Regions from separate parts of the Homo sapiens genome. Here all the other regions are linked to region 1. Evidence: promoter capture Hi-C in 16 types of primary human blood cells and fetal thymus (Javierre and others, 2016). All regions are on one chromosome and are shown on one strand. The core of a region is centred on a gene start or on the middle of the fragment in contact, and the rest is flanking DNA. Distances in the headings are between cores, read along the strand shown. Region 1 holds the start of PUS7 (pseudouridine synthase 7). Region 2 overlaps LINC01004 (long intergenic non-protein coding RNA 1004). Region 3 has its middle 58 kb from the start of SYPL1. Region 4 has its middle 6.1 kb from the start of KMT2E-AS1.

Region 1 (3,180 bases), core at 239-2,738:
ATTCCAGCACTTTGGGAGGTCAAAGCAGGAGGATTGCTTAAGGTCAGGAGTTTGAGGCCAGGCTGGGCAACACAGCGAGACCCTGTGTGGTGGCACATGCCTATAGTCCCAGCTACTTGGGAGGCTGAGGTGAGAGGATTGCTTGAGCCCAGGAGTTCAAGGCTGCAGTGAGCGATGATCACGCAACTGCACTCCAGCCTGGGCAACAAGAGCAAAATTCTGTCTCAAAAAAATTAAAAAAATAAAAATAAAAAAACCAAAAACATGTTCACAAGGAGTTGTTAAGTACGTACTGTTGGCTACTTTCCTAATGTTTGAACCTAACAATTGCCTAACCAACCCCTTTTCAATAGTGTTGTACAGTCTGATTTTCGACAGATCCCTCAATAGTCGAGGCTCCCCCAGGCCAATGGGGCATAGTCATTTCATAGATGATTAGAGGCTTGGGGATGGGGGGGAGGGAACCTTAGTAACCCTTTATTTTTGGAATGGAAAAAAAAAGTAGTCTGACGGGACCAAATATTTTAAAAACTAAACTCTTTGCCAACCCTACTCGGCAGGCAACGAAGGTGTGCTTCTAAACACCTCTGCGCAGGGCTGACGAGGAGGACTCGAATTTCAGCTTGCACAGCAGCACCTCCATCCACTCGTTAAGCATTCACCCAGCTTGAGGGCTGGAGAAAGCACTCTGAGTCTGCAGCCCGTCCACTCCTACTCTGGGAAATGCATACAAAGCAAGCAGTCCCCAGAGCCCGCGTGGCGCCTAGTAGGCTCCCAGTGAGCGGCGACGCAGGACACAGGGGTGGAACACGTGGGCTGGACCCACAGAAGGCAGGCGCGGCGAAGCAGTGGCACCGTGAAGGGCTTCAGGGCCAGTGTTCCTCTGACGGAGGGACAAGAGTTTAGGGAGCGTCCGGGGCAAAGAAAGGGAGGAGTGGGAAGGGGGCCCCCGGGGGACAGCGCCGCGCGGGGAGGAGGGGAGCGCTCGGGCGCGGCGCCTCCGGACGACTGGCCGGGCAGAGCGGAGCGGGGAGCGGGGAGCGGAGAGCGGCGCCTGCACCGCCGAAGCGCAGGACCCACTGGGTTCCAACCGTGCTCCCGCTGGCACGATCCATAATGGAGGCGCCGCGGGCTCTGACCACTGCGGGGCCGCCTTCCCAGTCCGCCTTCCCAGTCCGCACTGCCTCTTGGGGCGGGGCCCTGGGGCTGGGGCTGGGGCCAGGGCCAGGCCGAGGAGCCCCGGCGGCCGCGGGGAGGCCGCGCACTTACCCGGAGCCTGGGAGCGCGGGCGCGGCGTGAGCTGGGCGGCGAGGTGGCCAGCGCTCTGGTTGGGACGCAAGAGAGCGGCGAAGGCCACTTGGATGAGCCAGCGGCTAGGGCGGCCAGGCAAAAGCAGCGCTTTCCGCGCGGAGGACCAGATGCGCTCCAGCCGACTCACCGGCGGCCGGGCTCGCACACGTGCGGCGCAGCGACGCGCCGCGGCCCGACTGGACCCGCCCCGGGGGCGGAGTCCGCTCCCTGCCGCCGGCCCCGCCCCCGGCCCACCCACTCGGAGCGGCCTGCAAGCCAGGGAGCGCCCCAACGCGGACTCCCAGCCTACGCGCGTTCACCCTGGACCTTCCTCGCGACCGCGCCTGAGTCGCACCAGCGGCAGAGAGCGATTTCACCAAGCATCTAAGAGTTCTTTAGATCTTTAGGAAGTCTAAGGCAGCGATTGCCTCCTTTGGTGTTATATTCTAAGTGTTTCCTTCACATAGTTGTGGCCCTTTCACGTTGCACCGACCACGCAGTTGACAATAATGGAAAGAGAATCACTTTAGGGACTAAATATTGTTCTACATTTGATCCTGGGAATGTAGTGGATCTAAAAGCACCATCTTCCTACTTCTTACCGCTCTGGCTTGATGGCTTGCCATAGGATCTGCTTCAAGAAACCGGATCATAGGTTTTTTTTGTTTTGGTTTGGTTTGGTTTTGACAGAGTCTCGCTCTGTCGCACAGGCTGGAGTGCGGTGGCGTGAACACAGTTCACTGCAGCCTCGACCTCCCAGGCTCAAGCAATCCTCCCACTTCAGTATCCCAAGTAGCTGGGACTACAGGTGCATCCCACCGCACCCAGGCTAATTTTTTTGGGGGTGGGGGGTAGAGACAAGATTTCACTATGTTGCCCAGGCTCTAATAGTTTTTTTGCTTTTTGTTTGTTTGTTTGTTTTTTGAGACGGAGTCTTGCTCTGTCGCCCAGGCTGGAGTGCAATGGCGCGATCGCTGCTCACCGCAACCTCCGCCACCCGGGTTCAAGCGATTCTCCTGCCTCAGCCTCCCGAGTAGCTGGGATTACTGGCGCACGCCACCATGCCCGGCTTATTTTTTGTATTTTTAGTAGAGTACGGGGTTTCACTATGTTGGCCAGGCTGGTCTCGAACTCTTGACTTCGTGATCCGCCCGCCTCCGCCTCTGTGTTGAGATTACAGGCGTGAGCCACCGCTCCCAGCCTCTAATAGTTTTTCCGTTTTGTTTTATTTTGTTTGAGAGAGAGTCTCACTCTGTTGCAGGGTTCAAGCGATTCTCCTGCATCAGCCTCCCGAGTAGCTGGGCCTACGAGTGCTTGACATCATGCCAGACTAATTTTTTTGACGGGGTTTTTGCCTGTTGGCCTTGAACTCCTGACCTCAAGTGATTTGCCTGCCTAGGCCTCCCAAAGTACTGGGATTATAGGCATGAGCCACCATGCCCTGCCCAATTTGTTTTTTTGTTTTGTTTTTTACACAATGAAATATACTATTACCGGCCGGGCGCAGTGGCTCACGCCTGTAATCCCAGCACTTTGGGAGGCCGAGGTGGGCGGATCATGAGGTCAGGAGTTTGAGACCAGCCTGGCCAACATGGTGAAACCCCGTCTCTACTAAAAATACAAAAAATTACCCAGACGTGGTGGCACGCGCCTGTAATCCCAGCTACTTGGGAGGCTGAGGCAGGAGAATCGCTTGAACTCAGGAGGCGGAGGTTGCAGTGAGCTGAGATCGCACCATTGCACTCTAGCTTGGGCAACAAGATGGAAACTCTGTCTCAAAAAAAAAAAAAGAAATATATTATTACCATACAATTCAGCAATTACACTCCTTGATATTTACCTAAAGGAGTTGAAAACTATGTTCACACAAAAACCTGCACAAGTATGTTT
Region 2 (3,180 bases), core at 343-2,842, 540 kb before region 1:
ACAGGCCCAACCAAAGATTCCAGGGACTCAGGGTGAGAAGCACCCAATGCTTTCCTCAAGCAACTGGGTTCTTGGAGAGCCCAAGAAGTACTGGTATTAAGTACCAAAGTCTATGTCTGTCAGTGCAGGAAAAGAACTATAGATGGTCATGTAGACTATGTGGAGAGAAGGTATCTCTTGGAATGTGTCTGAGGAAGTAAATTTTAGCTGTATAGCCTATGCAATGCTGAAAATGGGTGAGAATGGATGACGGCAGGATTCTAGAACCTACTATTGTCGTTGTCAGTAATGAGTCACAAAAGTCACATAGCGAACATATGAAACACACAGTATAATTATGCTGCTCATTTGCACACGGGTAACACAAATCTTGTCCACAGCCTGTTCCGAAGCTACAATCCAAAAAATGGCATTTGGCTTCTGCCTCAAATAACAGAAAGTTGAATCCAAATACAAATTTTTATACTAATTATTATTTTCTGTCATTCTTCATCTTGTTTGCTAACCATTTAGCTTGAATATTAACACAAATATTTGTTGACAGTGTGCAATTATATGCACTGTGAAGGATGCAAAGGAATTTAACATGTTCCCAGACTTCAGAATTGGCATCAATTGACTCAAAAGGGAACCAAAGATGAGTATCAAACCCAGGCCTTCATTCTTTATTTTTTGGTTCCTCTTTAACATTTTCCACTTTCCTACTAGCAGATTCTGACATCTGAGTCAAGATTACTTGTCTTTAATCATGTTAGTACTGACTCGATCTATTTATATGTTAGAGTAGCTAGCACTAATCGAGCTTCTACTATGTGCCAGGCATTCATGTCACAAGCATAGACCATTCAGTTAGTTCTCAGGACCCTATCTAGTATTTATTATCGTCCTCATTTTACAAATGAGAAAATTGAAGCCTAGAGATTAAAGAACTACTGTGAGGTCACAGCCTAATGTCTCATGGCTAGGAAACATGTAGGTGCAAAGAGGGGAGGTGGACTGAGATTTACATTTTTTCTAGCTGTTTGGAGTATTATCAGTTATAAGATAATGCACTAGAGGGCGCTAAATACACAAGCTTTAGCTGTTTCCATAATGCAGTTCCCACAGTAGTGAAAGATATATAATTGGTAATGGATGCAAGCCAAAAAGGCCCTCCCCAAAAAAGATGCAATTTATGATAACTGAGAAGCTGTATTTCTGTCCCCTCAATTAAGAAAAACCCTCATTTTATATTGAGCAATATTTATATTTTGTCTCTAATTTGATATTGATTGCTATTCAAAGTTCCTTTCAGTTAGAAGTTTAATTTTTCCTTGTTCTGCCTGCTGAATGACAAAGGGAAAGGGTAGAGTAACCTGGATGAAAATAAATTTTTAAAAATTGCACTGAGATACATTGCATCTTTTAAATTTTATTTAGCAAAGTTAAACATACATATATTTTAAAAGAGAAAAAGAGGAACTCACCCAACCCTCATATCCAAGAGCTTAAAATCACAGGAACTCAAGACCCATCCTCAACTTCAAATGCCAGTCATTATTTTAGAGGTAACTCAGATTTCTAAGTAATGCTTCTGTTTCTCGATTTATCAAATAGACATTATTTATTTTGTTTTCCTACATGAGAATTGAGTAGTTAACAGAATACCCATCTCTTATCAGTAACAAAGATTTACAAAATAACTTTTGTTTTTCATAATTACAAAAGCAATACATTATTATTGAAGAACATGTTTTAAAAAAAGACAAAAAGTAACAAAACTCTCCATTATCCCAACAGGCAGAGGAAGTTATTACCATTTTAATGCATATCCTTAACACATACATGTAAAAGATACATATACACATAAAAATATAAATGTTTAACAGAAATTACTTTGTACACAATATTTGATTAAACTATGATCTGTCTTCTTTCATTTTCGTTTTATTGTAGTAAAATTTACATAAAATGCATAAATCTTAAATCTATACATTTTTACATTACATAGAAATGTGTAATTATATACTCCATGCTCCCTCCCAATCAGTGCTGCCTCAAAACGAACTGCTCTTCTAATTTTAGAGCTTAACTCTTCTCGTCTCTATCACCACAGATTAGTTGTATTTTTAAGCTTCATGTAAAATTTTCCATGTCAACTTTGAAAACATGACAGTTAAAAGTTCTAAGGAATCTCCAGTTCTCCAACTGGTGTGGGAATCAGATAACTTGACTCCAGTGTGAATTGTGGTTACTGATGGTATCACTGAGTCTGTTATGGGCCACCCAGTCTTAAGGGCCAAGAATTTATGGCCCTGCAGGGATTGCAGAAAGAAACCAAACCGAAGTTCATAACTCAGCCTAAAAGGAGAAAGTTCTATTACTCAGTATCTCAAGACTAAGTGGATCATAAATGGTGTCACAAGTTTGCAGTTTTTTTTTCCTGTGGAAGATAATAATCTTTTGTATGTTTAATTCGTTATCATTGCCTTATAAATTATCACAAGCAGCACAGATAACTACTGGAGTCATCAGTGCAACTTAAAACAACAAAACTAGCATTTCTCACTTGCTGTTTTTCAGACACCTCCCATCATCTGCACCTGGTCCCCAAACCAGCTGTCCATGAGCAATGACAAAGAACTAAAGCGGGGATGGGGGAGAGGGGGTGTAGGGCCCAAGAGCTGGGGAGCATTATGGCTTGCTGTCAGCTGGCAGTCTAAGATGTACTTGGGAAGATGTTTCATACCCATTTTCCCTGTGAAATTAAAAATGTGATGCTACCAAACCTTTGCTTGTCCACCACCCTTAAAAGAATACTCATTCAGTACAAAGCCCTGCAAAAAGGAGTGAGCCAATTTGAATAAAAGCGGAAACTTCGTAGGAATTAGGAGCCTGAAAGGCTGCGTGAGAGATCGCAAACATATTGAGGCGTTCTTGAAACACCTGCTCTCTGATTACAGGTGGGAAAAGGCCATTCCTATGCCTTCTCCCATGGGCACGGCGAATCAAAGGCACTTTCCATATTTAATACGACTAATACGTCATTGGGCAAAGAGATACTCAATACATCCCCATAGCTTTTCCTTACTTTTACTTAACCTTTATGTCGGACGCTTTATGCCTAGTACTGTTCTAAGCGCTTTGCATGCATCATCTCATCAACCTAATATTTAATAAGAGGCTCGGATAGATTAACTT
Region 3 (3,180 bases), core at 400-2,899, 530 kb after region 1:
TCGTGCCACTATCCTCCAGCCTGAGTGACAAAAGTGCATCTCCATCTCAAAAAAAAAAGAAAAGAAAAACACTGAAAGTAAAAAAGGGAAGACAGCTAACACTGCAGGAAAAAGTTACAATCAAATCTTATTTTGAATGCATTCAGGGAACCCTCTATTTAGATCACCAAGGTAAATTCTTCTGTAAATCAAATCAATCTATTCTTAATTTGTATTTAAGAAGACCAAGCCTTCTACTTTGGGGCTTGTTTAAAGCAAAATCCACCTTACTTGCCAAGTCAGGTCTGTAGCCATTTTTGCATGGTCCGTGAACTAAGAATGATTTTAAATGAAAAAAAAATCAAAAGAATAATTTCACAATACATGAAAATTATATAAATTCAGATTTCAGTGTGTCTATTCATTGGATCACAGACATTCGTTTGCATATTTTCTATGGCTGTTTTTGCATTAGAGGAGAGTTGAGTCTCTGTTTTAGAGGCTAAATGGTCTGCAAAACCTAAAATGTTTACTGTCCAGCCTTTACAGAGTTTGCCAACCTCTGGGTTAAAGTGTGGTATTTCTTATGCTGAGGTTGGAGTGACCCCCAAATAAATGGTTTTGCTGGTGAGGAGCCTTCAAAGGGCTGGCTGAATGAGAATGCCTGGCCTTCCAGAGCCTTCTTTGGCCAGCAGGAGCATCTGTGTGATGCCACTGTGCAGTGAACTCATCTTAACCGCATGAATGGGCGAGCAGCTGTCCAGCAGCTGCCCAGAGACCCAGACCGGCTCTCAGGTACTGTGTGGCCTGGCTGAGGGCATCTGGGGGCGGGGCAGGGGCTCAGTGGGTGCAGCCCTTGAAAAATTCACCAGAATTAGACTCTGATGTCTCCATTTGATCTTTTCTTCCCTCCTTGTCTTGCCTTTTCAAAAGGCGACTCTTTTCTGTGGCCTTTTCTTCTTTCTTTTGGCTTATATGATCCCTGCATCATTATTTCCCAAAAAAGAATGTGGCAAAGTAACTTTTTGAAATATTAATGAACCCCCTTTTTCCTTTTTTCCCCTCCCTCCCTCTCTCTCTCCCTTGTTTCCTTCCTTCCTTCCCTCCCTCCCTCCTTCCCTCCCTCCCTCCTTCCCTTCTTTCTGGCAAGGTCTTGCTCTGTCACCCAGGCAGGAGTACAGTGGTGCAATCACAACTCATTGCAGTCTCGATCTCCCAGGCTCAAGTGATCTTCCTGCCTCATTTTAAATTTTTCTGTAGAGACAAGGTCTCAATATGTTGCCCAGGCTGGTCTCAAACTCCTGGGCTCAAGTGATCCTCCCACCTTGGCCTCCCAAAATGCTGAGATTACAGGTGTGAGCCACTGTGCCTGGCCCGTCTTTTTTTTATTTTACCTCTCCTTTCCTCAAACTCTCTGCCTCCTCAGTGAAGCAGCTAGGCTGTTCTGTCCTCCTGTTTCAGGGGAGTAAGGGGTTGGGCAGGGAGTTTTTCTGTCTTAACTTCAGGGAGGCCTGAGAATTCTCAGCAGAAATTGTTTCAGCGAACATCAAAATAGAGCAAGACTTCTCCCACCTCCTTGAGGTGGGTAGGGAAGCAGAGAGGGATGCTCAGTGCAGAGGAATCAGTGAGTGAGGGGAAAAGACATAGCATCTGAAGACACAGAGGCCAGCACTCAGGACCTCCATCAGAGGACCACGTGAAAGGCAGGTTCAAGTCCACCTTGACCACTCAGCCTCCATTGCAGTCGGTGGCATCTAGTGCCACTGGCTGGCCTTCCTTCACTGTGGTGGGGATTTCTTTCTGCAGCAGCCAGTACTTCCTTGGTGACTCCATACAGAGCATGACACCGTCCCAGCCTCCAGCTTTGGTTCTTTCCCCATCTGACATGCCCTAGGAATTCACTGCCTTTGCAGTTTCACTGGATCTGAGTTAATCCAAGAGATAGACAAAGGGGTATTGAGTGAACAAGATGACCAGCACATCCTAGGTTCCCAGAGTTCCCAAAGCTGGGTTGAGACCTCACAGGCCGGGCTGGTGGTAATGCCCAGGGTGTGTGTGTGTGTGTGTGTGTGTTCGTTCCTTGGCACTCACATATGTTTGTGTGTCTGTGAGGCTGTGTGATGGGATCTGGGAACTGGTGGAGGATGAGAATAAAGGATGGAGCGCTAAGGAGTCAGGCAGGCAAAAACAACCCCCACACACCATGCGGGTGTATGCCTCCCGGGTCCCATGCACCTGGGTATGTGAACCCTGCCACCCTCCTGCACAAGAGCCCAGTCTACTGTGCCTGAAGAGGCTGGACCTGACGCCGGCCTTCCCTTTGCTTCATTTGTGAGATGCCGGCTAGTCCAGTCTGACTTCAGGAGAGCATCTCTGGCTTTTCTGCTCCATTCCTAGTTTTGGTTCTTCCTTAGGAGGCCCCGCAATGGAGGGAGGAATAGAGCAGAGAAGAGGCGGCATTTCCTCATCTCCCCACACTCTGGCCTAGGACCTTGTGATGACTTTCTCTAATTTCAGAGGTGGAGACAGACTTCTTCCAGCCCCCTCCTGTGAAGGGACAGTGGGGCCAACTTCCTTTCCTCTCCTGTGCCAGGTCTTAAAAGCCTGACCTGCATTTTGCAGAAGTCAGGACCGGCTTGAGTTCAATTACAGTAGATTGCTTGATCTCATTTATTTTCTCCTGTATGCTTGAAGTTAGGACAGCTTTAATTTGAAATGGAAATTTATGCAAATACTATGTAAATTAGGTCATTCCCAGATTAACTGGGGGAAAAAATCTGGTCGCCTTAGCAGGCACCATCTGTTCCCTCCTCATTCTTTCCATATCTGAACCCCACCCCCCCTTTCCCAATCAACTTTGAAACTTGTTTTCCTGTGGCTGAGAAGAGAGATCGTTCAAGGGAAGGAAACTAATCCCCCATCAGTTTTCCAGGTGGGTCGTTCCAATGTCTGTTTTGCGGTGAGAAGAGGCTCAGGTGAGAGGCTGGGAAGACTTCAGGGTTGGCTCCGGGTTAATGGTTGCCACACTCCACACATGTGCCGCCTCCTCCTTGTTCCTCTCTTTTCTCTTGGCCTCCGCTTCTCTTAGGATTCTTTTCCTCCTTCTCTTTGCCTGAAGTCTTCTAATGGCACCCAGAAGCCTTCTTCCTCCCTCTTGTGGCAGTCGGAGTAGAAGGGCTTTGGGGTTTTGCAATACCCCCA
Region 4 (3,180 bases), core at 446-2,945, 510 kb before region 1:
TGACTTCCATTTGCCCTTTCACTGGCCATAAAGTAGGAGCATGGAATAGAACAAAGAGAGTCGCTACAGAATGTCTGTTGTATAGATGTGGTCAGATAAGCTGTGCTTGGGACATGGGAGAGATGCCTAGACTACCACAATATTGTTATCAAATGAACCAGAGAATAGTGAATATTTTTGTTGCCTTTTCAAGTTTTTCATAGAATGAGGAAAATTAATTGAACATTACTTATTTAAGTAAGTGTTCTTCAGGAATGAAGTATCGCCTTAGCACAGCCTTCCTTCATGAAAAATTTAAATACTAGAGATAAGACTAAACTTGAGGAACAGGTTCTCTCTTAACCTAACAACATTAAAGCTTGTCAGAAATCCAATAGGGGCCAGGCACTGGGCATAATGTACAGGCAATTATGTGTGATGAAGAGGTGCACAGGCTTTACAGTACAGTATATTCACTTTTTTTTTTTTTTTTTTTTTTTTTGAGACAGAGCCTCCCTCTGTTGCCCAGGCTGGAGTACAGCAGTGTAATCTTGGGCTCACTGCAACCTCCACCTCCCAGGTTCAAGCAATTATCATGCCTCAGCCTCCTGAGCAGCTGGGATTACAGGCACGTGCCACCATACCCAGCCTGGATTCACTTTTCTATGTAAAAAGGAAGTTTACAAATTTCTGAGAGTTTAGTTGCCAAATTCTGACCTAGCATATAAGAATTCAAGTGTTTAATAAATCAGTAGCAATTTTCCCAAATCCAGAGTTTGATACGGAGCTAAACCATGTCATGAGCTCACCCATCATTCGAGTTACTTTGCCCCTTATCAATGAAGTCATTGGAAGTAGTAGCAACCTGGTTTGAGAGGGTTATGTGGTACATCGTTTCACAAATTTCAGAAATAATTTATACTACTCTACTTTCTAAGGAAGGTGGAAACCTAAAGTGGGTGAATAGCTGAACACTTGGAACGCTCGGATTTATTTTCCTATAGGTGGGGGTCTTGCTATGTTGCCCAGGCTGATCTTGATCTCTTGGCCTCAAGTGGTGATCCTCCCACCTAAGCCTCCTAAGTAAATGGGACTACAGGCGTGTGCCAGACACCTGGCTAATATTTTAAAAAAATTATTTGTAGAGACAGGGGTTTCATCATGTTGCCCAGCTTGGTCTCAAGTGATCCTCCTGCCTCGGACTCCTAAAAGTGCTGGGATTACAGGCTACTTGCAATTCCTTTTTTTTTTTTTTTTTTGAGACAGGGTCTCACTCTGTCCCCCAGGTTGGAATGCAGTGGTGCGATCTCAGCTCACTGCAACCTCCACCTCCCCAATTCAAGCAATTCTCATGCCTCAGCCTCCTGAGTAGCTGGATTACAGATGTGCACCACTACGCCCAGCTAATTATTTTGTATTTTTAGTAGAGACAGAGTTTTGCCACGTTGGCCAGGCTGGTCTTGAACTCCTGGCCTCATGTGATCCACCAACCCTGGCCTCCCAAAGTGCTGGGATTATAGGCATAAGCCACCATGCCTATAATCAGCCAGCAATTACTTTCAAATGCTATCTATCATTTGTGGGCATTACATAATAATCTAACAATAAAAGGTATTGCTTAGGATAGTTATGAATAATTTAAAAATTATTATAAAGCTAATCAGACTTAGGTTAAATATGTTATGCACTGGCGTATAATCTATCTTAAAAAACAAATGCAATCAGTTCCTTTTCCTTGGCCTAAAATGTAGACCGACCCAAGATCTCAGCTTTCTTGCTAAATTTGTCTCCTATTAAGACTGAATCTACCCTGTTTTGGCTTTTATCTGTGAAGACTATCAAATGTCAATTATTTTTCTTGAAAGTCAATTCCTTCTTCTTCCTTATACCCACCCAGGCAACAATTACGGATGTTTCTGTAATAACTTAGATTCCTTCTTTATCACTCCTGCTCTGATTCAGGCTCTTCTTGCTACATTGAGGGCTCTAAAAGCCAGTCTCTTCTGGGTTGAAGACAGGTATGTTTTAAAGTAAGTCTTTCTCTGTCCTGTGCCACACCTCATGCCTGTAATCTCAGCACTTTGGGAGGCCAAGATGGGCGGATCACCTGAGGTGGGGAGTTCGAGACCAGCCTGGCCAACATGGCGAAACCCCGAAATACAAAAATTAGCCAGGCGCGGTGACAAGCGTCTGTAATCCCAGCTACTGGGGAGGGTGATGCAGGAGAATCACTTGAACCCAGGAGGTGGAGGCTGCCGTGAGCCGAGATCGTGCCACTGCACTCCAGCCTGGGCAACTGTGCAAGACTCTGTCTCAATTAAAAAAAAAAAAAAAAAAAAAAAGGCCAAGTCATCCTTCAGACAGTGTAAGTAGGGCAAAGATTATGAACTCTGGTGAGGTCAGGGAGACAGATGTTAAAGTTAATGCTCTGCCACCTTGGGTAAGATTATATATAAAGTATATACAACAGCATCCAACAGTTCGGTGTATTACGAGAGCATTCTCTTTTGTGGGGAGGGAAGTCACACTAGCAGTTAAGGATTTCTCGTCTGGCCTTAAGTCAAGACTTTCCAATAATTCCCCTGTTCTCTCATTAATGTCACTAATGACCTGATGTGGCATTACCTTGCTAATTAAAAAAACAAAAATCCCAAACTCTTGTTATTCCTAAATCCTTACTTCCAACTGTTATTCTTACATCAAACTATACATAAAGAAATGGAAGTAGCATTAAAACTGAGCTAAGTTTAGGATGGGCACGGTGGCTCACGCCTATAATCCCAGCACTTTGGGAGGCTGAGGCAGGCAGATCACCTGAGGTCAGGAGTTCAAGACCAGCCCGGCCAACATGGTGAAACCCTGTCTCTACTAAAAATACAAAAATTAGCTGGGCGTGGTGGTGTGCGCCTGTAGTTCCAGCTACTCACGGACTGAAGCAGGAGAATCGCTTGAACCCAGGAGCCGGAGGCTGCAGTGAGCTGAGAACGTACCACTGCACTCCAGCCTGAGTGACAGAGCAAAGCTCCTTCTCAAAACCAAAAAACAAAACTGAGCTAAGCTTAAACTGGTAGAATGAAGTCTGGGAGAAAATAAATTAGTAAGTAAACATTTACTTGCTAAACAACTGTAAGGGAAAAACCAGGATATAGTTTTAAATTTGAGACAAATATTAATCGATATACTTTGAGAGGGGCACTTAAG

Evidence for each region. The method cuts DNA at HindIII sites, captures the fragments that hold promoters and counts their contacts. A CHiCAGO score of 5 or more calls a contact.
Region 2: a contact is called between a fragment that was not itself captured here and the fragment with the promoter of PUS7 in region 1, in 2 of 17 cell types (fetal thymus and erythroblasts). The highest score is 9.3, in fetal thymus.
Region 3: a fragment that was not itself captured here is called in contact with the fragment with the promoter of PUS7 in region 1 in 1 of 17 cell types (naive CD8 T cells); the score reaches 5.1 in naive CD8 T cells.
Region 4: a contact is called between a fragment that was not itself captured here and the fragment with the promoter of PUS7 in region 1, in 1 of 17 cell types (neutrophils). The highest score is 8.3, in neutrophils.

What each region holds. Positions count from the first base shown.
Region 1 is chr7:105,520,783-105,523,962 of GRCh38, forward strand. PUS7 (pseudouridine synthase 7) reads right to left here and starts at 1,489. Exons shown (of 16, transcript NM_019042.5): 1 at 1,270-1,489. RefSeq lists enhancers at 1, 316-970, 2,254-2,754 and silencers at 513-658, 868-1,617. The HindIII fragment of the contact is 10,027 bases long and covers 1-3,180 here.
Region 2 is chr7:104,980,352-104,983,531 of GRCh38, forward strand. It overlaps LINC01004 (long intergenic non-protein coding RNA 1004), which reads right to left. Exons shown (of 1, transcript NR_039981.2): 1 at 1,396-3,180. Among named protein-coding and RNA genes, the nearest start is that of LINC01004, 9.2 kb to the right of the region's middle. RefSeq lists an enhancer at 3,174-3,180. The HindIII fragment of the contact is 1,038 bases long and covers 1,074-2,111 here.
Region 3 is chr7:106,052,573-106,055,752 of GRCh38, forward strand. No RefSeq gene overlaps it. Among named protein-coding and RNA genes, the nearest start is that of SYPL1, 58 kb to the right of the region's middle. The HindIII fragment of the contact is 6,086 bases long and covers 1-3,180 here.
Region 4 is chr7:105,006,470-105,009,649 of GRCh38, forward strand. No RefSeq gene overlaps it. Among named protein-coding and RNA genes, the nearest start is that of KMT2E-AS1, 6.1 kb to the right of the region's middle. The HindIII fragment of the contact is 2,679 bases long and covers 357-3,035 here.